Linked DNA regions of Homo sapiens: region 2 is linked to region 1. The links are contacts of gene promoters, found by promoter capture Hi-C in human tissues and cell types (Jung and others, 2019). All regions are on one chromosome and are shown on one strand. The core of a region is centred on a gene start or on the middle of the fragment in contact, and the rest is flanking DNA. Distances in the headings are between cores, read along the strand shown.

Region 1 (2,847 bases), core at 227-2,726:
GAATGTGCCTGTCCTCTGTTGGAAGGGGACCAACCCTTAAAAATCCGTTTATGTTAAATACTTTGCATTTACATTGGAGATTGTTTTGAGTTTCTGAACAAACACATAAATAACCACATTTGCCTGGTAAAGCCAAATTTACAGAATTTCTGACTCTGGGCGGGGGTGGATAATATGTGGAAATGGACAAACAAAAACTTTGAGACAAATTGACCCATTGAGAAGATTTCCAATGATGATAGGCTGTCTCTGTTCTAAGAAAAGCCATGTTACAATTCGTCCTTTTACTGGAGTCTTGAATGAAACTGTTCAGTTACTTTGGATTCTTCCTACTATATGCTTTTCAGATAGCATATTAAAGTTATAAATTTTGAAGTGTATTGGAAGAAAAACCCTAAATCTCCAGGCCAATGTTTGTAAATAGAAGTCCTTGGCACTCCTGCAGCAGTTTACAATGGTCATTCACATGCGTAATGAATGCTTACAGCAGCCCAAGGATGCAGGTGTTATCCCCATTTCCCCCCATTTTTCAGACAAGCAGTGACCAAGATTTGCTCACTGCCAGAGCTGGGACTCCAGCCTAGAACTTCCCTACTCCCTACTTCCCTAGAAGTCCAGTGCTTTTTGCTACTACAGCTGCCAGAGATGTCATTTCATAGCTGGTTATGTATTGAAAGTTCTTAAAAGTGAGTTAAAAATGAAAATCTTATTGAAATCAAGTGCTTTTCACAAAATATGCTGTACTCAAAACACAAATGTATCACATTCCCAACTTGTGTTTTCATCTATGATGGAGAGATAAGGAAAGCCATGTGATTAATATGGGTAGAAGGGCTGAGGACCCTCTGATAATTGCCATTTGGTCTCTACCTTTTGCCTTGCTGTCAGCAATACCTTCCTCTCCTTTCTGCAATATCCCCTTCCAAATGCTCTCCCCACTGAGCACTCCCTGCAGTATTAAGTTTTCAGATAAAGAAGTAGCTCCTATCTGAGACAGAAAGCACTATTTGTTAGGTTCAGAACAGTGGCTTGGGAGGGGATTGACCAGAAGGTACTGTTTTTGATGGGTTTCTATTATTAGCTGAACAGTCTTCAGTTGTTTTCTCACCATAACATGAGAGATTTAATAAGGTTAGTAGGTTATTGGCTTATTTCCGGTCCTGCCACATTTTTTTCTTTCATTAAAAATGCTATCTTCTGTTGTGGAATGTCTGTCATCTTGAACTAATCAACAAAAATACTATGTTTTTCTGCCGTTAACTATGTGTTGGCAATTTGAGAGAAAATACTAGAATGTAGGTTTGAAAATGATACAAATTAGACTTCAAGGAATACTTAAGAAGATTTGTGGCAGGAAAGGCTTGTGAGTAATTTAGTTGTTAGGCTGGGTTAGGCATCTGTGGATTACATCAAAGAGGATGTGCAGAGATTTTATCGGGAGCAGTGAGGTGACTTTGGCAGCTAACAGGCCACTAGTATCCTACTAAAGCTTTTGTCTGGATAGGAGCAACATGCATGTTTACAGTCTTGCAGGTAAGAGACCTTGGCAAATAATCCTCAGTTACCAGAAGATGTATCCATAACTGCCTAGCTTGCCTGTCAGTTTTTAATAGCTAAAGATATAAATCTGGGTAATCTAACTCAAATGGCTTAGTTTCATTTTAACTCAAATGATATGGGGAATTTTATGATCTTGAAAGAGCAGGTTTTGCTTCGAGAAGCCATTTCTTCAGTATGGAATAATGAGTTGTCAGGAAGATTGAGTACAATGGGCATTTGCCCTGGTCCTAATCAACAGCATTTGGACCCAGAGGAAGCCAGCTATTTTTGTAAGGGCCATTTCTCATCATTAAGTTTCCAAGTGCTTTTTTAGGGTTTGTCTAGTAAAAAGCACTATTTTGAAAAACAAGCATAGTAAGGGTAGGGGGTTGTGGCATTTAATAGTACGTTTTAAAAAGCTAATGGAAATACTTTTAAAACAAGATTTAGGACAAATTCCTTAGGCATCAGTCACACTAATGCATCTTCTGAGTCAAGAACTGGCTATCCTTTCTGTGTACTCAGTCCGGAATTGCATGTGGTGGGTGCTTACTTATTTGCAGTCTCAATCAAGAATTCTCACTCTCAAGATAGCAGAAATAGATAAGCTTCAACTGACAAATTTGGTACAGAAGTCATGGAAAGGAAGGTAAGTCTTTTGCCAGGCATCATGCCAGGCATCAGCATCTTTCAGGACTAAGGAAACAAAAGAGGAAAACTCGATTTTACTACATGTTAACTCTACTGAATACCTCCTTGAATGTCAGATTCCTTATCTGTAAAACAAAGGTTTTGCATTTGATTATCTCTAAGATCCGCTTCTGCCCCCAGTTTTAAAGTTTGATAGGGAAAGAGGTTTAAGTCAGGATACCAGGCCAGGGAGGAAAGGAAGGGAGGGCACAGGCCTCTGGAGTTCAGCTGCCTCCCCCATTAGGATTGAAGTCCCAGCTGCTGGCTACTGCCTTGAGGGAGGTATCAGCCTTTTACTTCTGGATCTTGGCCTCTCCTTGTTCTACCCCTTCCCAACAACAACTGAACATACCAAGTGCTTGCTATGGCCCAAGCACTGTTGCAGGTGAAGCTGCAGCATGAACAAGATAAGCAACATCTCTGCTCCCCAGGCCCTCTGCAGACATGACACCTGCGGGAGACAGACACTGAGCAAGCCAGTGGATACAAGAACTGGGAAAATGAGAAGTGCTATGAGGGCAAGAAGTTGCAACTGTTTTCTTAGCTACCTGGAGGGAGGGAAAATCATTTTCTGGAAGTTTTTTTCTATGAGTTTTGTCTTAGCTTTGGCTGTCATAA
Region 2 (2,847 bases), core at 100-2,599, 490 kb before region 1:
ATCTATATTAACAAATTATAGTCATACATAATCACTTTGAAAAATAGTTTATATTATTTAGAGTGCTTAACACACTAAGGCCTAGGATAGGAATAAATGAACACTCACAGCTGGATAAAAGTGTTTCTGCCCCAAGTAGAAGAGAGATGCAAAGAGCTCAAGAACCCCCTCACCGGCCCTCTCGGCTTCCTCCTGCTGCTTTTTTCTCTGTAGTTCTCGCAGTTTCCTCCGAAACTCCTCTTGCTGTTGCCGGGCTCTCTCCTGGGCTGCTTTCAACCGGAGCTGCTGCTTTCTCTCCTCCTCCTCCTGCCGCTGCTGTTCTTCTTGGAGTCTCTGTTTCCTCAAGCTGAGAAAACCCAAGATGGTCAGGGAAATGGCAGAAAACACTGAGGCATCCTTGTGAGATGAGCCAACAGACAGTGCCCATGGGGGAGGCTCTGCAGCCCACAGGCCACAGGGAGCAACCTATTCCCAGGAGACTCAGTTTTCCAAGGGAAGCCAGGATTGAAGAGCAAAGAGCCCAGCGGGCTTGAAACCAGAAGCCTAGAAGTTTCAGTACACAGCTCTGTGCTCTGCAGCAGGGGTCTTAAGTTCATTTTTCATGCTTATGGATTTCAAAACTCTTGCCTCACAGGGTTGTGAAGATTAAATTGCAGTTGAGGCCTGTGAAAGGGCCTAGCACAGTGCAGACCACAAAGTGCAGGGGCTTGACAAGTGTTTTCTGGACTGAATCTCAGAGCCTTCCCAAGAAGATCTCAGGGTCATCAATGTGAGTAACCCTCACATGGGGTTCTAAACTTGAAAGAGAGTGACATTCAGCAGAGTGTACCAATGCACATGGTTGAGACGCTACAGTTTATCTCTGGTGAGTGTTGTTCCTAGGAAAACTGAGGATAGAGAAAAATGACACATGCTATTTTAACTTCAGGGCATGAGCCTCAGAACCAAACATTGCCCCTAGGGGAGGTCAACCACTGTCTTTTTCTTCTGCTTCCTAACATGGCTGTAGTCTCTTTGGCTTGCCCAACCTACCGGATCTCTTCTGTACGTCTCTGCTGCTCCAGCTCCAGCTCCTCCTCCATCTTTTTTGCTCTCTCCAGCTGCTCCTGCTGGAGCTGCCTTTGCTCTTCCTGCTCCCTTCTCTTCTTCTCCACCTCCAGCCACCTCATCTCGGCTCTTTCTGCTCGAAGCCTGTCCCAGGAAGCCTTCTCCTGCTCCCTCTTAGTGAGGAGGGCCTAAGAAACCAGAGTGTTCTCAGTGCAATAAACAGATGGGTCTGTCTCAGCAGTGAGCCCTTCTCCACCCCAGACAGTGTTGTCTCTAATCAAAGATGGAATCATAAAACAGACTCCACACTTTGCCCACAGCTGCATAGACTCAGCCACCACCAGCTTGGACTTTTGGGTCTGATTAACCTGGATTCAACTCTCTCTCTTACTTGCTTTGGGATTTAGGGATCACAACTTAAACTTCCCGATATTGTCTTCCTCATGGTACTGTTGCCAGGATTAGCTGAAATAATGAAAGTGCCAACATAATGTCCAGTACATGGTAGGTTCTAGAGTTCTCAACCATGGCTGCACTTTAGAATCACCCAAGGAGCTTTCAAAAATTACTTGTGGCTGGGTGCAGCAGTTCATGCCTGTAATCCCAGCATTTTGGGAGGCTGAAGTGGGAGGATTGCTTGGGCCCAGGGGTTCAAGGTAACAAGTCACCTATGATCATGCCACTGCACTCCTGGGTGGCAAAGCAAGACTCTGCCTCAAAAATATAAAAACAAGGGGCCGGGCATGGCTCATGCCTGTAATCCTAGCACTTTTGGAGGCTGAGGTGGGTAGATCACCTGAGGTCAGGAGTTCCAGGCCAGCATGGCCAACATGGAGACACCCTATCTCTACTAAAAATACAAAATTAGCCAGGTATGGTGGCACGTGGCTGTAATGCCAGCTACTTGGGAGGCTGAGGCAGGAGAATTGCTTGAACCCGGGAGGCAGAGGTTGCGGTGAGCCGAGATTGCGCCATTGCACTCCAGCCTGGGCAAAAAGAGTGAAGCTCCCTCTAAAAAAAAAAAAAAAAAAAAAGAAGCTATTTTACCAGGGGCAATCTTAGGTATAGATGGGTCAGATTCACATTTAATCCCACAGAAACTCACCTTTCCAATGGAAGGTTGTTCTTTCAGTTTATAGGAAGGTTGTCATAGCTTTCTTTTTCTCCCTAGTGCCTCTTCCTCAGAAATATGCCTATGAAGGGAACCTTGAGAGGCAAGCCTTCTAGGAACTCTGTGTATCCAACTCAGAGAAAAAGCTCCTTGCTTTTTAGTCTTTGCAGAGGCAGCATAGTATTATGGATTGACAATAAATCTAAGAAATGCTGATGATCCCGCAGGTTCAGAAAAGTTCGGCCCATAGGTTAAAATTTTCATCTGTTGTGCAGAGCCGAATTGTGTGATCCAGGAAGCTGGGAGGGACTGAGAACTATAAAGGAAAATCTTCCTGGAATCCTTTTTGGAAGACCATGAGCCATAAAATAAGTAAATAGATAATAATTTAAAATGGTGACAAGAGTCCTGAAGTTGGAGTCAAAGGACCTAAGCTTAAGTCTTGGCTCTACCACTCAATGGTTGTGCAATTTCTGGCAACCTGCATTTAACTCTTTCTAGTTTCTATTTCTGGATCTGTAAAATGGGGCTAATCATACCTGGCTCACAAGTGTGGTAAAGGTTAATGTAACATATGTGAGTTTAATTGTAGTGGCTTAGCTGTGTGTGCATTTGTAGTGTTTAAAGCTACTTTTTAATTTTTTTGTATAAGATGTCAAAATGAAGTTCAGTACCTTAGTCTCAGGGGA

Evidence for each region. The method cuts DNA at HindIII sites, captures the fragments that hold promoters and counts their contacts. A contact is called where the count stands out against the background at its distance.
Region 2: a fragment that was not itself captured here is called in contact with the fragment with the promoter of MPP4 in region 1 in 1 of the 25 tissues and cell types used here (mesendoderm cells).

The regions. Positions count from the first base shown.
Region 1 is chr2:201,697,273-201,700,119 of GRCh38, reverse strand. MPP4 (MAGUK p55 scaffold protein 4) reads left to right here and starts at 1,476. Exons shown (of 22, transcript NM_033066.3): 1 at 1,476-1,533. RefSeq lists enhancers at 1-344, 345-846. The HindIII fragment of the contact is 2,902 bases long and covers 1-1,818 here.
Region 2 is chr2:202,191,689-202,194,535 of GRCh38, reverse strand. KIAA2012 reads right to left here. Exons shown (of 24, transcript NM_001277372.4): 20 at 1,033-1,235; 21 at 174-346. Among named protein-coding and RNA genes, the nearest start is that of SUMO1, 45 kb to the left of the region's middle. The HindIII fragment of the contact is 7,310 bases long and covers 1-2,847 here.